3 separate regions of the Homo sapiens genome follow, and all the other regions are linked to region 1. Evidence: promoter capture Hi-C in 16 types of primary human blood cells and fetal thymus (Javierre and others, 2016). All regions are on one chromosome and are shown on one strand. The core of a region is centred on a gene start or on the middle of the fragment in contact, and the rest is flanking DNA. Distances in the headings are between cores, read along the strand shown.

Region 1 (3,985 bases), core at 780-3,279:
TTCACGGACTGAACTAACTGCAGACCAAAAATATTTCGGGGGGAAAAAATAAAAAGTATCAATTCAGCAATAAAAAAATGCAAATTAAAAAACAACAGAACAACTATTTACATAGCACTTACTTATTGGGTATTATAAGCAATCCAGAGATGACCAAAAGTATACAGAAGGATATGCATAGGGTACATACAAATACTAGGCCATTTTATTTAAGGGACTTGAGCAACCTCCAATTTTGGTATGGTCAGGGGTACTGAAGCCAATCCCCCATAGATACCAAGGGACTATTGTATTGTTGGGCAAACCACAGTGAACCAATCAAATGATCAGCCACCTATTAAAAACAGGCTCTTGCCAGGCACTATAGCTCACACCTGTAATCCTAGCACTTTGGGAGGCTGAGGCAGGAGGATCACTTCAGCCCAGGAGTTGGAGGCTGCAATGAGCTACGATCTTGCCACTGCACTCCAGCCTTGGCAACAGAGCAAGTCCTTGTCTCAAAAAGACAAGCCAAAAAAAAAAAACAACAACAACAACAACCAGGCTCTTCCGTAATTCAGGGTATAAACAGCATTGCCCAATATATGTTCCATATACGTAATTATAAATTTTAGAAGCCAAGTTTAAAAAGAAAAAAAGTAAAACTAAAAAACACGGGAAATACACTTTAATATTATATTTAATTTAACCCAATATATTCAAATATTATTTCAACACATAAGCAACATAAAAATTATTGAGGTATTATTTTTTTCTCCTACTTCATTAGGAGTAATGCTTATTCAAAACGATGTTTTAATTCATACAGCAAGTCTCAATTAGCACTAACCTCATATCAAGTGCTCCACAGCTACAGTGGCTAGTGGTTACCCTAGTGGACAGGGGAAGTCTATAGCTATTTGTTGTTGCTTGAATTAAAAGCAGATCCATACATTTGAGTCGTTTTTTGAATTTTCCTCCAAAGCTGACAAAGTTCCCAAACCTTTTGTGGAGTGAGAAAGTCCCAAAGTCCTCAAAGCTTAACACGTAATTCATGCAAACGATTAAGCTCGTTGAAGAGTGTATGTTTAAGTACACTATTTCCTGAATACTTTTATACACTTAATCTCCAGGATAAAAACGTTGGCATAAATTCCTGAGCATGCAACCAAGCAGACACCTAATTAATGACGATGCTGGTCGAGGCTTGAATTTCTCTCTATTGCTCCAAAACAAAATTCAAAATCCTCTTCGTATTGACGGAAAAGTAAATATTAAAGGAAGAAATCATTTTCACAGGAGCTGAAAGCATTAAGAGTAAGAATCCCTAAGCACACGCCTATCTTAAAGATCTCCTGCCCGTTCCTCTCCAAACCCGGTAATCCTAAAGAGAAGGAACCCAGTTCTTGCTCCCTGTAAAATGATAGTGAAGATAACTGCGAGATGCAACTTCCTCCTTTTTTCTTAGTGCCACTTCGAGCGTATATGACCAGACAACCATGCTCACTCCACGCGATACCGAAACAGAAAGGGCTCTGTTTTTATGCTGTAGGGCCAAAGGGGCCACCCTGAGTGCAGCGAGAGGACCACAGAAACGGGCAGGGCGGGGACAGCAGGGCCAGGGCTTGGCCTCGGGGGACGAGAAAGGTGGGAACTTTGGCAGCGCGGGCGGGATCCCGCCGCATCTCCCCAGCCGGAGTCGGGACTGGGACCCCGAGAATCCGCGGGCGGCAGAGGCTCCCGCATCTAGCACCTGCCGCACCGGGATGGGGAGTCTCAGGCGGCGCAGGGAGCAGGGCCCGGGCAGAATCCCGGACGGAGCAGCCCTCGGCTGGGCCCTCAGCGCCCGCAGCCCACTGGCCGCGCCCTCTCGCTTACCGCCCCAGATGCCCAGCTTCAGCTGGGACTTGTTCAGGTTCTCCACATAGTCCCCCAGGAAGCGGTTCAGCAAGTCCGCGACCACCGACTCCAGCACCATGGTGGCGCTGAGGCACAAGGAGAGGGAGGAGCCGGAACCGCCCGGCGCAGCTGAGGGCTGCGACCAGCGCTGCAAATGACAGCCCCTCCGGCGCAGGCCCACCCCCGCGCCGCGCGCGTGACCCCGCCGGTGCGCAGGCGCGCTGTCGCCCGGCCGGTAGCTAAGGAGGCCCAGCTGTGATCCCGAGGCTTTGTAGGCGCCGCAGCCCTGGCCCTCTAGAGGCCGACGGAGGAGTGCGGGGGAAGTTAGCTTGCGCCTGTCTCGTCAGCCGTGCACGAGAAAAAAAAGGACCTTCGAGAAGAACAAGGGAGGGCAAGAGTTACCGAGTACAGGGACATCTATGTGGCCGCTCTGCTTTCCCGCCGTCACCTGCTGTTGAACTCCGGCCGCATCGCGGTGTCCGGAGCCGCCTGGCCTGGAGTATGCGCTGAGCGTCACCTAGGCAACCACCCCTGCACCTGTGGATCAGGTGGGGGAAAGGGACCGACCGCGTTCTTGTCCTGCTAGAGTTCGACTCCGCCTGGGGCTTGGTCTCTGCTTCTTGAAAACATTGTTTTTTTATTTTGTTTCTGTTTTGTTTTGTTTTGAGACAGGGTCTCGCTCTGTTGCCAAGGGTAGAATGCAGTGTCGGGATCATAGCTCACTACAGACTTGACATCCTGGACTCAAGAGATCCTCCTGTGTCAGCCTCCCGAGTAGCTGGGACCACTGGCGCGCGACAAATAATTTGAAAGTGGGAGGAGGGGAACAGAACCACATCAAATGGCAGATATCATAGAATGAGAACTGAATATACGCGTTTTGTGGGAAACGCGTTCTTTTCCCCTTTCTCTAAGATTCGCTTTTAATTCACTAGCCACTAACCAGTTACCTATCTCATTACAGATATAAAAAACAAAACGTAGTAGTGCCTTTTTAAGTATGAGTTACTTGTTATTTATATATCACTTTCTTCCATGCTATCGTTGAACTGTCTTTGATGTAGCACGACCTTAAAAGCAGAGCTTTTATACCACAAGATCTTTCAACCCTTGTGAAATTTAACCACCCATTGAGATTCACCTCTTTAGAGAACTAGAAATTTTTTCCTAAAATATATTTCAAAAAGTTGTTGAGATACAGTACACAGGAAGAAACCTAAGAAATGCTGATTATTTGTAGTCACAAGCATTAATAAGTGCTTTGCTACGAGGAAGTGTCTGAGAAACTATTCGTGTATTTTTCTTAAACAACCTAGGCTTGCACAGGATCACAAAGAAAAATCTTAAATTCAAAGTCCGCTGGAGAAGAAAGAAAATCAAAATGGCTACAATTGGTGTTGTGTATTAAATAAAATTAAAAGTACAAAGAAAGACCCAGTCAGTACTAACTAGTACTATCAAGATCACATTCCTCTCCCACTTTTGCACACTCCATTCCTCTTTAAGAAGATAAATCCTTAACCGTCTGTTTTTCCTAGCTGGTCACAAAGACAAAATACTAGTAAGTACTTTGGATTTCTTCACCATCCACAACCAAATAACAGCCTAACCTGTCTATTTTGCTTTTGCCATCTTTCCTAAATTCTCCATGTTTTTCTTCTGGACCATGCCATCCATCTCCTTGAAATTCACTTCCTAGCCTCCAGTTATTCCTTCCTCCAGTCTATTCTCATGAACACCGGATGTGTTTTCCCAAAGCACAGGTGAGCTTAGGTTAGTCACCTGCTCAAAAACATCCAATAACTTCCCAGTGTTTAGAACACTCTCTTCAAACTTTCTCCACGTTCTTTCTAGTCATACACTCTAACAATCCCGCTTCCTTTTTACATTCACACTGACTATGCTCCAAGAGGAATGTAAAGAAGCAATATATGTTCTGGTTGAGATAAGGCATGTACCATAAAAAGTTAAGAAAGAAGCCAATCCAAGGATGTATGAATAACAGTATAAGATGATAGGAAAGATGGCACAGGCAACATAGCTTGGTCAAGCAGGTGGAGCAATAGGCACAATCTCTTGGGAGAAGTGAGTAACACTAATGCTTTGT
Region 2 (3,985 bases), core at 564-3,063, 170 kb before region 1:
ATTAAGGACAACAAGGAAAGAAACAAACCACTTTTTCCCCCACCAACTGACAATGAGTATTGTGAAGACAAAGACAATATCTTAGTCATCTTTCTATCCTCGGGGCTTTTCAACTAACAGTTCAAAGAATTATTCAGTAAGCTTTACTGAATAAATATACAGCATACCAAAGTCAAACCAGGTATCTTTTTACTTTCTTCAAATCGGCTATTATGAACTTAATGCCTTTTAAAGGTTTAGGATGTCTTATTTTCCTTCTTGCATACCTGGTTATCCCAATATAGGAAACTTCCTGCTTGCTTTCATTGTTAACCAGTGAAAGCCCAAGACTGTGGAGAGACAAGGTTATTTCATAATCAGCCTGTTCCATTTCTTCTGCCTGCAGTGCTTTGGAAACCAAGGCAACATCATCGGTGAAAAGCAAAACTCTCTGGCGCCCATCCAGAAATGATACCCAGTGTATCTGGATGTTTGCATCATATGGAAACTGTCCACATCCATCCTGGGAAGAAGAAAGACTTCATTAAACCCACACATAGTAACTTGTTATTATATAAAATTGAACTATAATAACAGAAAGATTAGAAAAGTTTAAGAAGCACTACTATAAATTGAAAAATTCTAACCATCAAAATGACATAAATTAAGCTATAATCTATTTTAAAATATACTCACCAATTATTTTCAAAAACGAAGACTAATAGTACGTAGTTTTTTAATACCTAAGTCTGAATTACCTACTGAGTGCTGAAGGGCACAGAGCAGGATTCAAGAGGATCCTTTGGTGGCACCAATGCAATAAGATGATTCTTTGTCTCCAAGCCGGAAAACAGAATGGTTCGGAAGTTTATTAGAGATGTAACCTTAGCCCAGAGTGGTGGCTCACGCCTATAATCCCAGCACTTTTGGAGGCTGAAGCGGGCAAATCATCTGAGGTCAGGAGTTCGAGACCAGCCTGGCCAACATGGTGAAACCCCGTCTCCACTAAAAATACAAAAATTAGCCAGGCATGGTGGCGGGCACCTGTAATCCCAGCTACTCAGGAGGCTGAGGCACGAGAATTGCTTGAACCCAGGAGACAGAGGTTACAGTGAGCTGAGATAGCGTCATCGCACTCCAGCCTAGGCAACAAGAGCAACACTCCATCTCAAAAAAGAAAGAAAGAAATGTAACCTCAGACAAAACCAGCCTAGCTTATTTTTATATTTTCATGATCTATAACATAGGAAATATTTATGTAAATCACACTGGTGAAGGTTATATGTAGCACTTAAAAATATGAGGCTTGATTTGGTCAGTGTTTTCAGAGGTTAAAATAATAAATTCCACTTTGTTCTGGGTTTAATGAAAATAGAACAGTTCATTTCAATAAGCAGTACGAGTACCTACTATGTACTTTCCATTCCATGCTTTCCAGGGGAGAAAAAAAAACAAAAACAACTGAAGTTACCAAGAGTATAAGAATAGTTGAGTGTCACTAATGTTCAAAATTTACTAATACTTTCAAGGTACATTATGTGATCAAAGATGCCTGCCCAATTTTTTTACTCTAATAAGAAATCAAATTTTCAAACATACCTATTAAGAAGGTGAATTCTGTATCTGTAAACTACAAAATGTGCTATGTATCTTAGTTCACAGTTATTATTCCAATATTATCTGACTCTTGTTTTTCATCTATTTCATGTGAAGTACAATAAAATATCCCCAGGTAATTGTGTTTCAGTTAATTTCTAGCATTTTAAGTTTTATATGTTGATGCAATACTATTCATTGCATGAAGGTTTATGGCTATCACTCCTTCTGTGTCATATTATCATTATCTATTTAATAATTTTGCTTTGAATTGGTCAGAAATTAAAATCAACAGAGGGTGATAACGCCAAAATGGAAGAGTAGAAGCAATGTGGCTTCACTCTTTACCACAGAAAACCAAACATAAACTTCTAGTGCCAAGATTATCATCAGCAATATCCCAGAACTTGAACCTGAGGCTGACACAATTCCTGGAGCCACAGAGAAGTGAAAAGCTCCACGCAGATGGTAACAGAAATGAACTTCTCTACCCACAATGCCTCTCCCCGAATCTGCCTGGCACTGCATGCAGGAAATTCCTCTTAAGCTCACAATTTCTACACTGGATAAAGTGAGATCAAAGCAGAAAGCCAGCTTCCTCACCATCTTGGGCTCCCTTGCAGGAAAACCACTCCTGGCTCAGCCCATGGGAAGCATCACAAGTGCTTTAGGAAGAGAAAACCCCCAAGGGAGGCTACAGACAAAGAGGAGAAGCAGGATTAAAAACTCCAGCCCAAGAATTTCTGCTCTTTATTTCAGCCAAAGGAAACGCCTATTCAGAGTGGCTGTTCAGCAGCACAACACTGTGGGAGGCACAGTCCCTAAGTCTTCTGAGGAGGAACCCTGGGCAGCCTTCCTACATAGCTGGGATATCCCCTTTGAGATGCAACCCCTTCCCCACCACTGGAGACAGTACTGCCAAATGTTTCAGAGAACTGAGGCAAACCAGCAATTATACCACCATCTAGTGCTGAATAGGAGGCAGTGATCTAGGATAAAGGGGACCCAAAGGCAACTGCAAAGGACCTCTAAGCAAACATATTCTAGAAAGACCAAAACAAGCCAGAGAACAAACACTGGAATAAATAAATAATCCTTCAATGTAAAGCCATAGACGCATGTCCACAAGAAACAACAGCAAGCAGGGAACCATGGCCTCCCCAAACAGACAAAGCAAAGTGCCAGTGACAAACTCTGATAAGACAGCCACGTGTGAGTTCTCAGATCAAGAATTCAAAGGAGCAATTCTAGGAAAGTCAGCAACTTCCAAGGCAACACAGAAAAACAATTAAGAAATTTATCAGTGAAATTGAAACAGACTGAAATAATAAAATTAAACAGAAATGCTGGAATGATGAAATAAATTTGCTGAACTGAAAAATGTATTAGAGGCTCTCAACAGCAGACTGGATCAAGTAGAGGATGGAATCAGTTAGCTCTAAGACAGGCTATTGGAAAATACACAGAGGAGAAAACAGAATAAAAAAGAACAAAGAATGCCTGCAAAATATAGAGAATAACCTCAAAAGAGCAAATCTAAGAGTCACTGGTGGTCAAGAGAGAGTTGAGAAAGAGCAAGGGGTAGAAAGTTAATTAAAGAATTAACAAGAAAATACTTTCCCTATTGGAGAAAGATAGAAATACACAGGTAAAGGTCACAGATGACCAAACGGATTCAATCCAAAGAAGACTACCCTAAGGCATATAATAATCAAACTCTCAAGGGCCTATGACAAAGAGAGGACCCTAAAAGTGGCAAAAGAAAAGAAGCAGATAACATATAAAGAAGCTGCAATTTGTCTGGCAACTGACTTCTCAGGAAACCATGCCCTGCAGGAGGCAGTGGGACAACATACTCAAAGTGTTGAAGGGGAAGAAAAACCCTGCCAACCAAGAATATTGTATCCAACAAAGCTTTGTTTCAAACATGACAGAGAGATAAAGTTTTTATCAGATGAACAGAAGCTGAAGGAATTCATTACCTCTAGACACATCTTACAAAAAATGATAAAAGGAGTTACTTGATATGAAAGAAAACAATGTTAAAATGAAAAAAAAATTTGGAGGCATATAACTCACTGGTAAAACTAAGTACACAGACAAATTGAGAATAATCTAACACCATAATTGTGGTGTATAATCCACTCATATATCTAGTATGAAGACTAAAAGACAAATCTATCAAAAATAATAATAATTACAACAACCTCTTAATAGGCAATACAAAAAAGATATAAATTGAGACAACAGAATGCCAAGATGTATGGGGGATGGACTTAAAAGTGTAGCATTTTTTAGTTTTTCCTTTTTGGTTTCCTTGCTTTCCTTTCTGATCAAAGTTAAGTTGTCATTTGTTTAAAATAATGTATTGTGTCTATAAGATGTTTTTTGTAAGCCTCATAGTAACCAC
Region 3 (3,985 bases), core at 493-2,992, 150 kb before region 1:
CTACCTTCTGAATCAACAGGATAATGCTACCTTTTTCTAATGAAGTATTTTTTTCATAAAGCCCATGTTGGGGTTTTTTCTGTTTATCATACTTAAATGAGGAAAGATCTGTGTAAACCTAGTGTTTGCCAACAATGTATGATTTTCTTTGAACTCCCCTGTCATGTCCACTTGGGCCTAAGCAGAACTCCCTTCTTTGATCAACTGAGTGGACAAGGACATAAACGATTTCCTTGCTTATAGCTCAATTTTCAATACGTGGCAGACTATCTGCTGACTGAGGTGGAATCACCCTCTCTTCCTACTGCCTCATTCTCTAACACCAAATAGAAGAGAAACATTAAAAACTGAAATCCCTGACCATGCTGTGAACAGAATTCTTCCCGGATCTCCTTCTATACACAGACCTTGATATCCTCCTCCAGAATGTCATTGCTACCTTCTCTCTAGTATCTACATGCTACTTACTGGGAGCTACAGTTGCTAAGTAGTATCAAATGTGAGGAGAGAAGAAATGAGGATAATTCAGTAACTACTGGCCAATTACCATTTTAAAGCAAAAGTCAAGAAAGCCTTTTAACAGCTGGCATTATTGGACAAGTGAACAATGGACAATGACACTATTTAAACTCTTTCATCATGGATTTTATTCATACAGAAACTGGATGATATATTACTAATGCAGGAGCAATTCCTATATCAGATGGGAGGATGGTATATGAATTCTTTGGGCCCTTTCAGAGGCTAAGAGTCTAAAAAATAACATATTTAATCAACTCAGCTACCTAAATATTGTTTCGATAAATATTTCACTAAATTTCTTACATGCGATAATTTGCATACTATCAGACTTCATTAATTAACAAAATACATAGCTGTGCTTAGGAAAACAAGCTTTAAAAACTCATAGCCAAAAGTGGCATAGGTATGTTCAAAATAAAGTTGTTTTTAACTTAGTCTTACAATTCCTTCCTTTTAAAATAGGTAAATTAATTAAAAAGGTGCTTTACATAGGCAAGATAAAGCAGGTCTATTTTTTAAATTGTAAATAAATTACTTTGATAGAGCTAAGGTAATATACTGGTTTGAACTACAGTATTTGCCATCTAAAGTCCAAAAGCTACTTTTTCTGGAAATACTTCCAATTCACTTTTAGTTCAATTAGGACAAGGAGTCAGTGAAGATAGCTTCTCTACTTCCTTCACTGTCAGGTAACTCATATAGCACTCATTCACATCAAAAGATACCTTTAACAGATCATGTTCCCCAACATTTGCTGCATATGTCCATGTAAGTTTTCTGGTACCAGTAGGATCTGCCCAGGCAAAAAGTCGAGCCTGTCTTGGCAGCAAGACCATTTCTTCTGGTGACCCACTAAAACACAATGAACAGAGAGAAAATCAGAATATCTTGGAGATAAGAAACCCAAACCTGTAGTTTACTGAGGAAGGGATTAGCACAGAAGTCCTACGAAATTGCTGTGGTTAATAAAACACAACTCTACCTAAAAACAAGTACCCTAAAATATCTAATAAACTCATGGTTTTTAAGCTCGGGGAAACAGAATATTGCCCTTTCTGAAGCTTCAATGCACTCGGAATTGATCCAAGTGGAATCATAGCAATGGAATTCATTAGGTAAACAGATTGCCAGATCAGGGTCCACCTGTGGAAATGGCTGTGAAGAGGAAATATGTTTAGTAGCAGAAGAACTTCTATTCAGTGCTTAAATTTAAACATATTTTTTAAAGACAGGGTCTCCCTGTTTCCCAGGCTGGAATGCAGTGTTCATTCACAGGCAAGATCATATTGCACTACAGCCTCAAACTCCTGGGCTCATGAGATGCTCCTACCCAAGCCTCTCAAGTAGCTGTGACTATAGGTATGCATTACTGTGACCAGCTAAGCTTTTTAACAAATACAATACTTAAGATATATTATGGGTCACAGCAACAAAAAAATTATGTTCACACTGTTACTACACAAAGTGTGGTCCGTAAACAGGCAGAATAAGTATTACCTGGGGTCTTGCAGGAAAAGGCAAAGTCCTGGGTCCCATCCAAAACCTACTGAGTCAAAATCTGCATCTTAACAAGACTCCCAGGAGATTTTAAAATTGATTATTACAATTTAAGAAGTATTTGTCCATTTAATGCAAAAAATATTCCAGAGAACTGGGAGAAAAAAAGTAATCCAACTAGGTTTTAATCCTAATCTGTACTTTTAAGTCTCTCACTGGATTCACTCCATTAGAATTAAGACTAGGGAAATCTTTAACAAATTTACATATATACATACATTTATATGTGTGTATATATGCATGAATATATACACATATATACATATGTTAATATAAATATAATTTTATAAATAAAATTATACGATACTTTAAGGGCTTAAATTCTCTACCATTAAATAATGACATCATCCAAAACAAATGACAGCAAAGGCAAGAACAATGAAATTCCTATCAGCCAATGATATACATTCAACACCACTATCTACTCATCGTCTTCTCATTTAACCTTCTACTATCCCTACCCAAAAAAACTAAATACAGATTTATAGGAAGAGGTTCACTGAGCGTTACCAGATTACCAGGAAAGGGAATACTTAAACAGGTTCACTCCCTTATCTGCCATTTTGAAATTTAAAAAGCTCTAAAAGCCCAAAGATTTTTCTGGAAATTTGGTATCAAAACTCATTTGGCGGCAAAACCTGACCTGAATTGATACGAAACTATTAATAATTTCTATTTATCCCATTTGATGTGAATATTCATCAGTTTTGCTGCAGAAATATTAATGTGTTTACAGAGTGTTATCTCAAAACATGTAAGGGTATTAAAGATAAATACCATGTGTTCCATATCACCTTTCTAAAATCTAAAAACATTTTGAATATGAAACCAAAGTGTTTCCCATTAGTTACTATGAACCAATAAAAGTATTTCCCATTAACCCTTTTTTCTCATACCTCTGTTTGTATGTGAGGATGTCCCATGGTGTATGGTTCATTATCAAGGCAGGTGCAGATCCCTCATGGTAATCAGAAAAAGTTATGACAGTTGAATGTTCGGCAGTGTTTACATCCACCAAGATACCCCCATTCTATTGTAGAAAAAAAAAAAGTATGTTTGATGTACTGGTTTAATCTACACTTACATATGGAATTTCAATATTACGTAAAACACAAAAGCTTTGGTTTTTTTCGAGACAGAGTCTTGCTGTCACCCAGGCTGGAGTACAGTGGCGCCATCTCGGGTTACTGCAACCTCCATCTCCCAGGTTCAACCAATTCTCCTGCCCCAGCCTTCCGAATAGCTGGGATTACAGGCATGTGCCACCATGCCCAGCTAATTTTTGTACTTTTTAATAGAGATGGGGTTTCACCATATTGGCCAGGCTGGTCTCGAACTCCTGACCTAGTGATCAGCCCGCCTCGGCCTCCCAAAGTGCTGGGATTACAGGCGTGAGCCTCTGCACCCGGCCTGTTTCCTTAAGTTCTTACTAAAAAGCAAACTGGCTCTGATCTGTTATAAATATATGTTGGCATTATATATTGATATAGCAGCACCTTCAAATAATTACCAGTAAATTTTGATAGCATGGTTTACTGAAATATCTCAAAGCAAATTTTAAAAATCAAAGACATTTTATTTTAAAATATGAAAACTTCATCTATGTCCCTACAAAGGACATGAACTCATCATTTTTTATGGCTGCATAGTATTCCATGGTGTATATGTGCCACATTTTCTTAATCCAGTCTATCATTGTTGCACATTTGAGTTGGTTCCAAGTCTTTGCTATTGTGAATAGCGCCGCTGGAAACCATCATTCTCAGCAAACTATGGCAAGGACAAAAAACCAAACACTGCATGTTCTCACTCATAGGTGGGAATTGAACAATGAGAACACTTGGACACAGGAAGGGGAACATCACACACTGGGGCCTGTTGTGGGGTGGGGGGAGGGGGGAGGAAT

What was found. Contacts are between HindIII fragments. The CHiCAGO score rates a contact against its expected background, and 5 or more counts as called.
Region 2: a fragment that was not itself captured here is called in contact with the fragment with the promoter of VPS13C in region 1 in 11 of 17 cell types (naive B cells, total B cells, non-activated CD4 T cells and 8 more); the score reaches 10.3 in naive B cells.
Region 3: a fragment that was not itself captured here is called in contact with the fragment with the promoter of VPS13C in region 1 in 8 of 17 cell types (naive B cells, total B cells, naive CD4 T cells and 5 more); the score reaches 8.8 in naive B cells.

Annotation. Positions count from the first base shown.
Region 1 is chr15:62,058,418-62,062,402 of GRCh38, forward strand. VPS13C (vacuolar protein sorting 13 homolog C) reads right to left here and starts at 2,030. Exons shown (of 85, transcript NM_020821.3): 1 at 1,858-2,030. The coding sequence starts at 1,957. VPS13C-DT (VPS13C divergent transcript) reads left to right here and starts at 2,086. Exons shown (of 2, transcript NR_135690.1): 1 at 2,086-2,426; 2 at 2,551-3,985. RefSeq lists a silencer at 1,892-2,241 and an enhancer at 2,292-2,341. The HindIII fragment of the contact is 3,439 bases long and covers 1,017-3,985 here.
Region 2 is chr15:61,889,899-61,893,883 of GRCh38, forward strand. VPS13C (vacuolar protein sorting 13 homolog C) reads right to left here. Exons shown (of 85, transcript NM_020821.3): 67 at 267-502. Among named protein-coding and RNA genes, the nearest start is that of LINC02349, 160 kb to the left of the region's middle. The HindIII fragment of the contact is 3,348 bases long and covers 140-3,487 here.
Region 3 is chr15:61,906,017-61,910,001 of GRCh38, forward strand. It overlaps VPS13C (vacuolar protein sorting 13 homolog C), which reads right to left. Exons shown (of 85, transcript NM_020821.3): 65 at 2,976-3,109; 66 at 1,248-1,374. Among named protein-coding and RNA genes, the nearest start is that of VPS13C, 150 kb to the right of the region's middle. The HindIII fragment of the contact is 323 bases long and covers 1,582-1,904 here.